2 separate regions of the Homo sapiens genome follow, and region 2 is linked to region 1. Evidence: promoter capture Hi-C in 16 types of primary human blood cells and fetal thymus (Javierre and others, 2016). All regions are on one chromosome and are shown on one strand. Each heading gives the region's core, a stretch centred on a gene start or on the middle of the fragment in contact. The rest is flanking DNA. Distances are from core to core; before and after follow the strand shown.

Region 1 (6,911 bases), core at 3,119-5,618:
CAGAGGATAGGGTCAAGAGAGGGTTCCTATTTAGCAAATCAAAGGGAAGAATTTTAATGCTTCAATTCTCTGGATTATAGTGATGCTATGTGTTGAGGCGGAAGATAGGAACAAAGGGGTCTTTGAAGATGGAAAATGCAGATTGCACCCAGAGGCCTCTGAGGGATGGCCTGGCAGGGAGAGGCCCTCTAAGGATTGCCCCAGTAAAGAATGAGTCATAGCTGACCTCAGGGCCGCTGGAGCCACAGCTGACCCACAGTGGGTTTTCCTCTTGGGAAGAATTCCAGACCCCTTATTTCTCCTTGAGAGAATTCCAAGAGCCCAGGTTTCATCAACACCATCATCCCCTGACTCCCTTGTGGTTTTCACGGGGATGCATGTTCAACTTTTTCTCAGAGCAAAGATGTATTTATGCTGTTTAAAAATATATGCACACAGTTTTATGTATAATGTGGCATCATAACTTGTAGGGCATTTACTCTTATTTTATACATTCAGATATGTTTGGTTTTTTTTTTGAAACACTTCTTAAGGCTACACAACAGGACAGAGAAAAATAAACAGGAACATATTCAACAATTATAAAACATGATATGATAAAGAATATAAAGTACTAGTTTCCTTTCAATACTTCAAAAGATACATATATAAACTTTAAAAAAATGCTCAACATCACTAATGATCAGGGAAATGCAAATCGAAATCACAATGCGATACGACCTTGCTCCTGCAAGAATGGCCATAATCAAAAAAATAAAAAAACAATAGATGTTGGAGTGGATGTGGTGATCAGGGGACACTTCTACATGGCTGGTGGGAACGTAAACTAGTACAGCCACTATGGAAAACAGTGTGGAGATTCCTTAAAGAACTAAAAGTAGAACTATCATTTGATCCAACAATCCCACTACTGGGTATCTACTCAGAGGAAAAGAAGTCATTATGCTAAAAAGATACTTGCACACACACATTTGTAGCAGCACAATTCACAATTGCAAAATCACAGAACCAACCCAAATGCCCATCCATCAGTGAGTGGATAAAGACACTGTGGGCTGGGCACAGTGGCTCACACCTGTAATCCCAGCACTTTGGGAGGCCAAGGCGGGTGGATCACCTGAGGTCAGGAGTTCAAGACCAGCCTGGCCAACATGGCGAAACACCTTCTTTACTAAAAATACAAAAATTAGCTGGGCATGGTGGTGGCACCTGTAATCCCAGCTACTCGGGAAGCTGAGGCAGGAGAATCTCTTGAACCTGGGAGGTGGAGGTTGCAGTGAGCCGAGATGGTGCCACTGCACTCCAGCCTGGGTTACAAGAGTGAAGCTCTATCTCAAAAAAAAAAAAAAAGAAACTGTGGTACATATATATGATGAAATACTACTCAGCCATAAAAAGGATGAATTAATGGCACTTGTAGTGACCTGGATGAGATTGGAGACTATTATTCTAAGTGAAGTAACTCAGGAATGGAAAACCAAACATCATATATTGTCACTGATATGTGGGAGCTAAGCTATGAGGATGCAAAGGCATAAGAATGATACAATGGACTTTGAGGACTTCGGGGGAAGGGAGCGGGTGAGGGATAAAAGACTACAAATAGGATGCAGTGTATACTGCTTGGCTGATGGGTGCACCAAAATCTCACAAATCACCACCAAAGAACTTACTCACGTAACCCACCTGTGCCCCAATACTTATGGAAAAAAACCCCACCACTTATGGAAAAAATACCACCTGTACCCCAATAACTTACGGAAAAAAACCTAAACTTTTTTTTTATAAGTAACATCACAGATGCTCACATCTTCACATGCTTTTAAGTATTATTTGTACTCAGTGTAAGGCTATTATCATTTTTCATACATAAAGTTTTTTTTAGCTGTGTAACAATGCAATTTGTAATCCATTCAAGTAAATTCAGCCCCAAAGTTGTTGCTTCCCAGCATTAAGTCCTGCGCCCACCCCTCTTCTAAGATTTTCTAAAACTTGTATTTCAGAGGAAAAAAGTGTAGCTGAAGGGAATGCATATTTGATGCATATTTGGCTACACGATTTCTGTTTACTGTATTTTGCTTCCTATTTTATGTCTAAATCCTATTATTTTCATTTAAAATCTTAATAATGGCTCATTTCCAGTATGTCAATTTCAAAGACTTAAGGTTTTGCTACTAGTATCAGCCATTTACTTTCCCACTAATTGGGATTTTTTTTTTTTTAAAGAGTTTATTTATACTCTTTTAGAGCTTGTCCCATGGTCCTTCTGGTTTCCCTCTACCACTTGGGAGGGATGACTCCTGGCCACACCCCCATTGGTTGACTTGTTTTCCAGCTCTACTGGAAATCTCTGGGATTTGGGATATACAGTCAGAATGTTTCTGTCAACGACAGACCACATATACGGGCGGTGGTCCCACAAGATTATAATGATGCTGAAAATTCCTATTCTCTAGTGATGTGGAAGTGGTTATAATGTCGTAGTGCAATGCATTACCTTTTCTATGTTTAGATACACAAATATTATCGTGTTAATAATAGTTGCCTATGATACTCAGTACAGCAACATGCTGTACAGGTTTGTAGCCAGGTGCTATAGGCTGTGCTATACAGTCTAGGTGTGTAGTAGGCTCTACCATCTAGGTTTGTGTGAGTTCCCCCTATAATGTTTCCACAGTGAAGAAATCTCTTAACGACGCATTTCTCAGGACGCACCCTGTCTTAAATGATGCATATGTTACAAACTAGCGTAACTTTTTTTTTCTTTTTTGAGACAAAGTGTCAATCTTGTTGCTCAGGCTGGAGTGCAATGGCGCAATCTTGGCTCACGGAAACCTCCGCCTCCCGGGTTCAAGCAATTCTCCTCCTCAGCCTCCTGAGTAGCTGGGATTACAGGCATGTACCACCATGCCCGGCTAATTTTATATTTTTAGTAGAGACCGGTTTTCTCCATGTTGTTCATGCTGGTCTCGAACTCCTGACCTCAGGTGATCCGCCTGCCTTGGCCTCCCAAAGTACAGGGATTACAGGCGTGAGCCACCGCGCCCGGCCTAGTTTAACTTTTTAAAGTGCATTTTCTTGTTGTCACTGCCATAGTATTTAAATCTTTTCCTTTGCTGGAACACAAAGACCTTCAGTAATTTTCTTTTCACCACAATTTCTCATCCAGTAACTAAGCCCCTTCTTGCCCTCTCCTTAGGCCCAGCACTGACGGGGCAATGACACCGTTGTTCTCACCGGGGGCCATGATGAAGTGAAAAGAGAATGGGCCTAGCAGACATGAGACTGAATCGAGCCTTTGCCAGTTCACTAACTGTCAATCAGAAAATGTGCAAATGTACTTCACTCTAGTTTTCTCATCTGTACATTGAGGCAATGAGTAACCACCTCATAGGTGGTAAGGGTTAGATAGGAAAGAACACAGTAGAATGCCTAGCACACCTAAGTACTCAATCAATGTTAGTTCTGGACCTTTCATTTGAATACTGCTTGAGCTCTGTGCCCAATCTCCCTTTCCTGGATCAAATAAGATTTTTCTTTGTTAGTGATTTCTTTCTAGATACTTCCTTGGCCAGAACTATAGATCCTCTGTCTTTCACTAACTCTTGTTGATCTATGGTTCTCATTCAAGTTTGTGTAGAACATCCAGAGATTTCAGAGGCATTGTTTACTCCTGATGAACAGGGAACATTGCGTGTCCAGGAACCAGCACACTGCCTGAGTTATGGGGGATATTCAGGAAGCATGCTGAACCAATGAATGAATGAACAAATGAATGAATAGCTGATTCTGACTAGTCAACCAAAACTTAATTAGCGCCATTGCTTCCAGATGTTATTGCTTCTCAAGGGAGTATGCAATGTGAAAGAAGAAAGAAAAAAAGGCGCCTCTCAATCGTCAAATATCAGTAGATGCATTGGTTTTATTAACTGATATTTTCTCTTCAAAGGAAAGGCTGATTCAGTCTTGCACAGGCGAAAGATCCAGTGGGTCCCATTGGTTCTCTGTGTCTCCTGCTACACAAATTACTGACGGAAAGATTTGAGCCTTCATTGTGACCACATCCACAGAGACCATAGTCCAGAGAGAGCAATTGGGGCCTGAATCAACTGCTGGTGTTTGTTGAGCAGAAACAGTGAGTCTCTGACTTCCCACCAACAGCTAACCTGATATGGAAGAGCCAAGAGGCATCTCAGATTTGTCAACATTGCTTTAATGAGCTGAGGAACTTCTCATGGTAAACTCAGCAGCTGAGTAACAGGATGATGGCACCACAACAGGTAGATAATCAAGGCAGGAGGTCAAAGCACTGGAGCCAACACCCGCCCAGGATGGGGTATAAAAGGGTTGGGAGGAGAGGAGGCTTCAGTCTCAGTGGCTCAGCCTTCCCAGCTGATCTGAAGCTCCTGTGCAGCCTCAGCCCTACACCATGACCTCCTTCTACAGCACCTCCTCATGCCCTCTGGGTTGCACCATGGCTCCTGGAGCAAGAAATGTCTTTGTCTCTCCTATCGATGTTGGGTGCCAGCCTGTGGCAGAGGCCAATGCTGCCTCCATGTGCCTCTTGGCCAACGTGGCACACGCCAACAGAGTCCGTGTGGGGTCGACTCCCCTGGGCCGCCCCAGCCTCTGTCTGCCCCCAACCAGTCACACTGCTTGTCCCTTGCCAGGGACCTGTCACATTCCCGGCAACATCGGAATCTGTGGGGCCTACGGCAAAAACACCCTGAATGGCCATGAGAAGGAGACCATGAAGTTCCTGAATGACCGCCTGGCCAACTACCTGGAGAAGGTGCGCCAGCTGGAGCAGGAGAATGCAGAGCTGGAGACCACACTCCTCGAGAGGAGCAAGTGCCACGAGTCCACCGTGTGCCCCGACTACCAGTCCTACTTCCGTACAATCGAGGAGCTCCAGCAGAAGGTGAGGTGTGGGATCGCCTGGGCATGCTGGGTCTGAGAAGGCAGAAGCCTTCGCAGGAGGAATCTGCATAAGGTCCAGAGAGCTTTGGGTTCTTGGTTTCTCTTGGACATGAGCGTAAATACCACACATGGAGTGGGAGCTTAGAGTATGGTGCTTTGTGTGTGAACCGTCTTTCCGTTTTCCTCAGATCCTGTGCAGCAAGGCTGAGAATGCCAGGCTGATTGTACAAATTGACAACGCGAAGCTGGCTGCTGATGACTTTAGGATCAAGTAAGTCAGGATGAGGAGGGTCAGTGTGACTTCTCTCCTGCTGTATTTCCAAGGGCCCGCCCCATTACTCAGTCTATATTGTAGGTGTTCAAAAACAGTTTTTGACTAGAAGAATATTTCTCTCCACACCTTAAATTAGCCTGTTGCTAGAAATGGTCATTATATAGGAGGAAAGAGAATATAAGCATTGAAAGAAAAAGAAGGGCTGTAGTCTAGATTGGTTAGAACCTATGTCACTTTCTCCCATATCTAGAAGATAAGAGGATTTTGCTTTTCAATCAGAAGTAAAATTGAGTCATCACAAAAATAAACTGTCAATGCATAGGTTGTTGCTAGACTCTCTGACTCTTGGCCAAATCCATCAGCTGGAGGAATTGTCATTGAAGCTCCTTGGTAGCTAGAGTTGTGCTTGAATGAAGGGGAAAAGCAAGAAAACAACGAGAAATAATGAATCCAAGAGGAAAAGCAGCAAACTGAAGGTCCAGAGGCTTATTTTTAGCCATTCTTTTTCCTGGCCAAATGACTCCTATTATGGCAGAATAAATGCTGCATTTGAAGTCAGAACACTTAGGATGAGTCCATGCATTTACTATTAACTGGGCATGGAATTCTGAACAACTCGTGTTTTGTTTCTGAGCCTCAGTCTTCCATCTGGTCAATGGGCATAATGTCCTGACTACAAACCGTGTCGCTGCAGGGTTGAGAATAGTGTATACTGCCCACGTGAACAAATAAGGATCCAAGGTGGTGTGGGAGGTAGGAAGCCAGGGCAGCTGAGAGGGGCTATTGGGGCATTCTTTTTGACCCTGTGCCTCCTGTGACGGAAGGCTGGAGAGTGAGCGCTCCCTTCACCAGCTGGTGGAGGCGGACAAGTGCGGGACGCAGAAGCTCCTGGATGACGCGACCCTGGCCAAGGCCGACCTGGAGGCCCAGCAGGAGTCCCTGAAGGAGGAGCAGCTCTCCCTCAAGAGCAACCACGAGCAGGTGTGGCCCTGGCTGCTCAGACTCCTGGGGAGGGCGCTGGGCAGACAGGGGAGCTCCCCGGCCCTGGGGCTCTCAGAGCATTGCCTGGGCTCAGCTGGCCTAAGGATGCAGGGCTGAGGTGGGTCTGAGGGTCCAGAGGGCCTCTGTGGAAAGTGCAGACTTGCCTTGGGCATGAGGAAGGTGTCCAGGTGGGCTCTCCCAAATGCACTCTGGACAAGACTTTCCCATTTGCTTATGTGTGGGACTCCCCTCCTACTGCTTGCCAGGGACGGAGTCCTGGTGCTGTCTGCTCCATCAAAGGCCGTTTCCTTACGCAGGCTGTCTATCGCTTCCATTTCTGCAGGAAGTAAAGATTCTGAGGAGTCAGCTGGGGGAGAAGTTCCGGATCGAGCTGGACATTGAGCCCACCATTGACCTGAACAGGGTGTTGGGGGAGATGCGGGCTCAGTACGAGGCCATGGTGGAGACCAACCACCAGGATGTGGAACAGTGGTTCCAAGCCCAGGTGAGTGGGGGTTACAGAGCCAGGGAGTACCTGGCCTCCATCTGAGCAGGGAGGTGACTGTGTTTCTCTGTGCTCCAGTCTGAAGGCATCAGCCTGCAGGCCATGTCCTGCTCCGAGGAGCTGCAGTGCTGCCAGTCGGAGATCCTGGAGCTGAGATGCACGGTGAATGCCCTGGAGGTGGAGCGCCAAGCCCAGCACACCTTGGTACGTGTCCTTCACCCTCACTGCACT
Region 2 (6,911 bases), core at 77-2,576, 560 kb after region 1:
TGTGTGTGTGATGTGTGTGTGTTGGTAGTAGTGATGGTGGTTCCTGCTAAGGCTCAACAAATTTGAGGCACTTTCTGATTTTGTCATTTTCATTATAAGGCAATGACAATAGGAATGCTAACAGTCCTAATTCAGTGATTTTAAAAAGACTGAGTATTTTAAAAGTTAAAACAAAAGTCTACCAATAATATATAATGTTTTATATGTCAGAGAAACTGGTTATACTTAGCATAATGCACACCAGAAAACTCTGAGGTGCCATGGTGCATATTGGAGGCTAGGTAGGGAAGGGATGCTGGCAATAGGAAGTTTCTACTAGATTTTCGATGATTGTGGCACAAACAGCGTGCAAGCCCAGGTACTGTCTGCAGCCCTCGGTTTGGCAGCTGTAGGTGAAAACCCCAGTGAGTGTACGCCAGGCCTCCTTTCACGTGAAGGTCGTGGTCCCTCAAGAAGCAGAGCCAACTTACCCATTAGGCACAGCAGGCACTGCTCCCAGGGTCTGTGGTAATTTCAGGGACCCATGAATATGTCTTAAGTTCTTGTAATATCAGAAGAAAAATATGAATTTTGAGGTTAAAAAAGTTTTAATGTATTACATTAATATATTTGTCTTTATACCAACAGTCATAAGATAGAATTTTTAAGTGTGTGTGTGTGTGTGTGTGTGTGTGTGTGTGTGTGTAGGAAGGGGCCCAAGAGGACAAAAGTATCCAGGGCCCACGAAAGTCACAATGGACCCCTGTGCCCCTCTCTCTCACATGCTGTCCCCAGGAGCTCCAAAGCTTCCGGGTGGGCGGCCCAGGCGAGGTCAGCGTAGAAATGGACGCTGCCCCCGGAGTGGACCTCACCAGGCTCCTCAATGATATGCGGGCGCAGTATGAAACCATCGCTGAGCAGAATCGGAAGGACGCTGAAGCCTGGTTCATTGAAAAGGTAACACAAACAACAAAGGCTTTGATACATTCACAGAAAGGCCTGCGAACGAGCTCAGCGCTCGAGCCCCCTGGCTGTCTTTGCTGTTGCAGAGCGGGGAGCTCCGTAAGGAGATTAGCACCAACACCGAGCAGCTTCAGTCCAGCAAGAGCGAGGTCACCGACCTGCGTCGCGCCTTTCAGAACCTGGAGATCGAGCTACAGTCCCAGCTCGCCATGGTAGGCTCGTGCGCAAACAGACGTAGCATCCTTTGGACTTCCAAAGAAAATGCTGCATCCAAATTACATTAGCCGTTGGCTACCCTCCTCTTTTCGGTCCCCTCCATCGTTATTTCTATGCCATTTCCCTCCCACGTGCAGAAGAAATCCCTGGAGGACTCCTTGGCCGAAGCCGAGGGCGATTACTGCGCGCAGCTGTCCCAGGTGCAGCAGCTCATCAGCAACCTGGAGGCACAGCTGCTCCAGGTGCGCGCGGACGCAGAGCGCCAGAACGTGGACCACCAGCGGCTGCTGAATGTCAAGGCCCGCCTGGAGCTGGAGATTGAGACCTACCGCCGCCTGCTGGACGGGGAGGCCCAAGGGTGAGCAGACAACGGAGGCTGTAAACACCTTCAGGGGCTGACCAAGAGTGGGCAGCAGAAATAGAAGGAATGGGGTTTTAGTTGACAGAAAAGCAAACAAACAAACACAAGTCTAGTAAAGATATGCCTGGGATTTACTAAATGCTCTACACTTTGCAAAGTGTTTTCACCCATTATCTTACTTGATAATTCATAAAATGCTGCAAAGAACAAAGGCACCACGGTCAGAAACAGTTTGTAAATGAGTACTCCCTGTACTATAAAAGTCACTTACTCAATTTCTGATATCAAAGACCTGATGATAAGAAGGACACATAGTAGCCACCTGAACCACCTACTCTAACAAGCTTTCCAAAAGTGATCAGAGTCTGCACTAGTTGGAAGAACTCAGGCCTACAAATTGGGAAATCTAATTTCTCAGACCAGATCTTCCATTAAAAGCCAGGTTGTTTCACTTTTTGAGGTCATCTCCTTTGTTTTCTTACAGTGATGGTTTGGAGGAAAGTTTATTTGTGACAGACTCCAAATCACAAGCACAGTCAACTGATTCCTCTAAAGGTATGCAGAAACCCTAGAATCACTTAGAATAAGTCGGAATCACATTTATTAATGCAAAACCTGTAAGACCTCATTGACTACTGCATTATTATTAATTTTAATTTAAAGCATATTTATATTCTGAGCCAAGGAAAAACATTTATGCATTCCTGCACAAAATGAGTAGTCTATACCATATTAAAACTTTTGGGGGCCTGGGCATGGTGGCTCATGCCTGTAACCTCATAGCTTCGGGAACCTGAGGTGGGAGGATCGCTTGAGGCCAGGAGTTCGTGACCCACCTGGGCAAATAGCGAGACCCCATCTCTACAAAAAACTTAAGAAAAAAAATAGCTGGGTGTGGTGGTGTATACCTGTGATCTCGGCTACTCTGGAGGCTGAGGCAGGAGGACCGCTTGAGCCCGGGAGTTAGAGGTTATAGTGAGCTATGATCATGCCACTGCATTCCTACCTGGGCAACAGAGCCAGACCCTGTCTTTAAGAAAATTAAAATTAAAATTAAAAAATAAAAAAAATGGCAAAGCAGAAGGGAAAAAACCTACTCTGCTGCAAGGTATTATGATCACCATAACCACCTTTGAAATGTTTTCTTAAAAAAAGTTTTCATATATGTACAAGGCAACACTGAATACATTTCATTGTCATTGGCTAAAACACATTTTTGAGAAGTAAAATTTACTTTTGAAAGTTTAATTAGATGGATTGTATCAACCAATGCTTAATTTAGAAGCCTACATTAAACAACCAGTGTTGGATTAATATTTGAAACACTAACTCTTGCCCCCTTATTCCATTTTTATCTTTAGACCCAACCAAAACCCGAAAAATCAAGACAGTTGTGCAGGAGATGGTGAATGGTGAGGTGGTCTCATCTCAAGTTCAGGAAATTGAAGAACTAATGTAAAATTTCACAAGATCTGCCCCATGATTGGTTCCTTAGGAACAAGAAATTTACAAGTAGAAATTATTCCTTTCAGAGTAACATGCTGTATTACTTCAATCCCTATTTTTGTCTGTTCCATTTTCTTTGGATTCCCTATTCACATTGAATCCTTTTTGCCCTTCTGAAACAATATTCAGTCACAAGTCATTTTGGTCATGTTGGTCTTTGTAACAAATCAAAATTACCTTATATCCTTCTGGACCTGGAGTAGTCTTTTAACGAACTTTCTTCTGGTAACCCGGAATATTTTTTAATCATAGAGCTTTAATCAAGTAGTATTGTTTTAATAGAGTTAATTGTAATAAAAGATGAATGGTAATAATGTGAAATGTATGCCTTGATTCCAACAAGAATGTCAAGAGCATAGAGAGAAGTTTTTGAAATACTACTAATAAAATAGAGGCTGGGAGTAATGACTCACACCTATAATCCCAGCACTTTGGGAGGCTGAGAGGCAAGATGATTGCTTGAGGCCCGGAGTTCAAGACCAGCCTGGACAACATAGAGAGACCCCCATCTCTACACAACATTAATAATGATAATAATGATAATGTAGATAAAACTGGGATGAAGATGTCAGGGTTTGAGGATTAAGCTAAAAGAAGATTCTTTTAGAAGTTCTGGCCTTTTTATGTAAGCTCATCAAGGTTGTAGCAAAATTATATTGTCTACTACAGCAGTTGAGAGTTGTCCTGTTCATTTTCTAGCACCATCATTCATGCAGTCAAGAAACGCTGAGCCCCTACAGTGTGCCAGGTTGGAGGCTCAGTGATGAATATGATATGGTCCTTGCCTTGAGGAGCTCATGGTTGAGGGCAGAGATAAACACCTACCAAGAATGTTGATACAGTGAGATCTGTTGAATAGAAGTTCAAAGGGCTGGGCACCATGGCTCACGCCCGTAATCCCAGCACTTTGGGAGGCTGAGGCGGGCAGATCATGAGCTCAAGAGATCAAGACCATCCTGGCCAACATGGTGAAACCCCATCTTAACTAAAAATACAAAAATTAGCCGGGTGCAGTTGCAGGTGGCTGTAATCCCAGCTACTCAGGAGGCTGAGGCAGGCGAATCACTTGAACCCGGGAGGCGAAGGTTGCAGTGAGCCAAGATTGCACCACTGCACTCCAGCATGGCAATAGAGTGAGACTCTGTCTCAAAAAAAAAAAAAGCAAAAAAAAGAAAACAAACAGAACTTCGAAGGACACATGGAAGAAGTGAACAATTTTCCAGGAGGGGCAATGAAATGCTACATAAAGAAATCATCCAGGTAGACGAGGGAGAAAGGCAACAGGGCAAATACATGTGAAAAGACAGAGGGTGTGAACAAACATGGTTCTGCTCTCCTTTCTCCTAGCTGGCAGCAGTGAGGCCCAGGGTGGGGTCCCCACTGGGGCAGGTCAGACCCACAAGTCAGTAACAAAAATCATGTTCTGCATTAGGGAAAAAGGCAGCCAAAGTCTCAGCCTGAGTAGATGGTGGTTCAACATGGGTTGCCAAATTCAAAACCCTAAAAGGAAAATGGGCAAAATTCAATGATTAAGAGCCTGGCCTCTAACATCACACTGGGTTCAATTTCCGGCTCTGCTACTTAATAACAAGTAATTTAACCTCTGTGTTCCTCAGTTTCTTAAAGTGGAAATGATAGCAATGACTGCACCTGCTTCATGGCACGGGTTTTGTGAAGATGAAATGAGGTCGTGTACCTAAAGCACTAGGAACCTGGAAACTATTGGCACCTAGAAAGTACTCAATATTTGTGTCTTATTATTATTTACTGTATGAAACCAAAGTGGGATGAAGAAACAAGGAGACATGGTGAATAAGGAGTGTCAAAGAAGCAGAAGGGAGAGGGAGGAGTTGTGTTAGACAAGAGGAATTCCAGAGCTGAGTCCAAAGGCCAATGGCTAGTCAGCCAACTTAAGCTGATTTGCTTCAGTATGCAGCTTTTCCTTTTAATATCATTTATATGGCCAGATGCAGTGGCTCACGTCTGTAATCCCAGCACTTTGGGAGGCCAATATGGGCAGATTGCTTGGGCCCAGGAATTCAAGACCAGCCTGGACAACATGGTAAAACTCTGTCTCTACAAAAAAAATTTAAAAAATAAAAAAAAATTAGTCGGGTGTGGGGGTGCACACCTGTAGTCCCAGCTACTTGGGAGGCTGAGGTGGAAGGATTACCTGAGCCTGGGAAGGTCAAGAATGCAGTGAGCTGTTATCGTGCCACTGCACTCCAGCCTGGGCAACAGAGTAAGACCCTGTCTCAAAAAAAAGAAAAGAAAAAAATATTTTTAATGGTTTCAGATCCTCCACTCATCTCACTTTATTATACGCTCAGCTCTCTTTGTCTAGCCTTCACCTTCCAGCACACATCCTAGGGTAACCTTTACCTTTCAGACTCAAAAGGATTTTATCAAGGCCTCTGAACAAGGTCCACAGCCCCCAAGTAATAAATAAAGGATTCTACTTCCCTGGTGCTCAAAAGTGTCTGCAAATAGTTACTGCTTTAAATAACATCTGTTTTCCTTACAACTACATAAGAATGGTGTGAGACTCAAAGGGGAAAGGATTTTGCACAAGTATAAATGCAAGGGTCATTTATTAGCTAGTACCATAGTTTCTCAGCATTCCCTTCTCTTGGAAATTTTTTACCACAAAGCTCCCAGAGCCATCACTCTGTAGGCAGCTTTTTCTCAGACTTCTGTGACTGAATGTTGGCTCAATCCTCTTGTCTTTTCTCTATACTCCCTCCCCAGGTAACCTCATCTGATCCCTCCCCAGCCTCTCCTCCCTGATCTTATCCCATGGGTTTTGTTTGTTTGTTTGAGAGGGAGTCTCGCTCTGTTGCCCAGGCTGGAGTACAATGGTGTAATCTTGGCTCACTGCAACCTCCACCTCCCAGGTTCAAGCGATTCTTCTGCCTCAGCCTCCTGAGTAGCTGGGGCTATAGGCATACACCACCACGCCCAGCTAATTTTTGTAATTTTGGTAGAGACAGGGTTTTGCCATGTTGGCCAGGATGGTCTCCATCTCTTGACCTCATGATCTGCCCGCCTCGGCCTCCCAAAGTGCTGGGATTACAGGTGTGAGCCACCGCACCCAGCCAATCCCATGGTTTTAAATAGCACCCACATATTGGTGACTTGTGGCAGCCTCCAGGTTGGTGCCAGTGATCCCTGCCTCCTGGTCTTCATTCCCTTGTGTAGTTCCTTCTCACAATGAACGAGGAGCAGATTTATTGAAGAAGTGACAGTATATGACCTCCAAAGATAGATCACAAAGGCCTTTCAGTTCTTCCTTGGTCTCCTGGACTATATGCTCTTGGGGAAGTCAGCTACCGGCAGGGTTATATCGTGGGGGAAAAAACTATCTGAAAAAAATTCGTGATTTCACAAAATTTCCCATTGAAGTTCCAATGGCTAGGATTTCATGGCACAGCCAGCAAGACCCAAATAATAGTCCTTTTCTGATACTATCTTGGCCAAAATATCCTATAAGTCTTCACTTGGCAAAGGAAGCATTACATTTCTTATTATGTAACTTCACTTTGCCCTGTTCTCACTGACAAGAAATGCAACTAGCACAGCATCTATCAGTCCCTTCGGGCGGCTAGAACAAAATACCTCGGACCGCGTGGCTTAAAAATGAGAGAAACTTATTTCTCACAGTTCTGGAGGCAGCTTCACTGTCTGATAAGGACCCGCTTTCTGGATCATACACAGCTTCTCGATATATCCTCACATGGCAGAAGGGACAAAGCAATGCCCCAGGGCCTCATTTATAAGGACAATAATCCCCTTCGCCAGGGCTCCACCCTCATGACCTAATCCACTCTCGAAAACCCCACCTCCTAATACTGGGTCATTGGTGATTAGGTCTCAACATACAAATATG

What was found. Contacts are between HindIII fragments. The CHiCAGO score rates a contact against its expected background, and 5 or more counts as called.
Region 2: a fragment that was not itself captured here is called in contact with the fragment with the promoter of KRT37 in region 1 in 5 of 17 cell types (erythroblasts, M1 macrophages, naive B cells and 2 more); the score reaches 9.7 in erythroblasts.

Annotation. Positions count from the first base shown.
Region 1 is chr17:41,422,042-41,428,952 of GRCh38, reverse strand. KRT37 (keratin 37) reads left to right here and starts at 4,368. Exons shown (of 7, transcript NM_003770.5): 1 at 4,368-4,921; 2 at 5,109-5,191; 3 at 6,019-6,175; 4 at 6,519-6,680; 5 at 6,759-6,884. The coding sequence starts at 4,430. The HindIII fragment of the contact is 11,234 bases long and covers 1-6,911 here.
Region 2 is chr17:40,857,728-40,864,638 of GRCh38, reverse strand. It overlaps KRT12 (keratin 12), which reads left to right. Exons shown (of 8, transcript NM_000223.4): 4 at 775-936; 5 at 1,029-1,154; 6 at 1,296-1,516; 7 at 2,004-2,074; 8 at 2,881-3,336. The coding sequence ends at 2,978. The region is part of intron 1 of LOC105371777 (a long non-coding RNA gene); the gene reads right to left. Among named protein-coding and RNA genes, the nearest start is that of KRT12, 6.0 kb to the left of the region's middle. The HindIII fragment of the contact is 1,078 bases long and covers 788-1,865 here.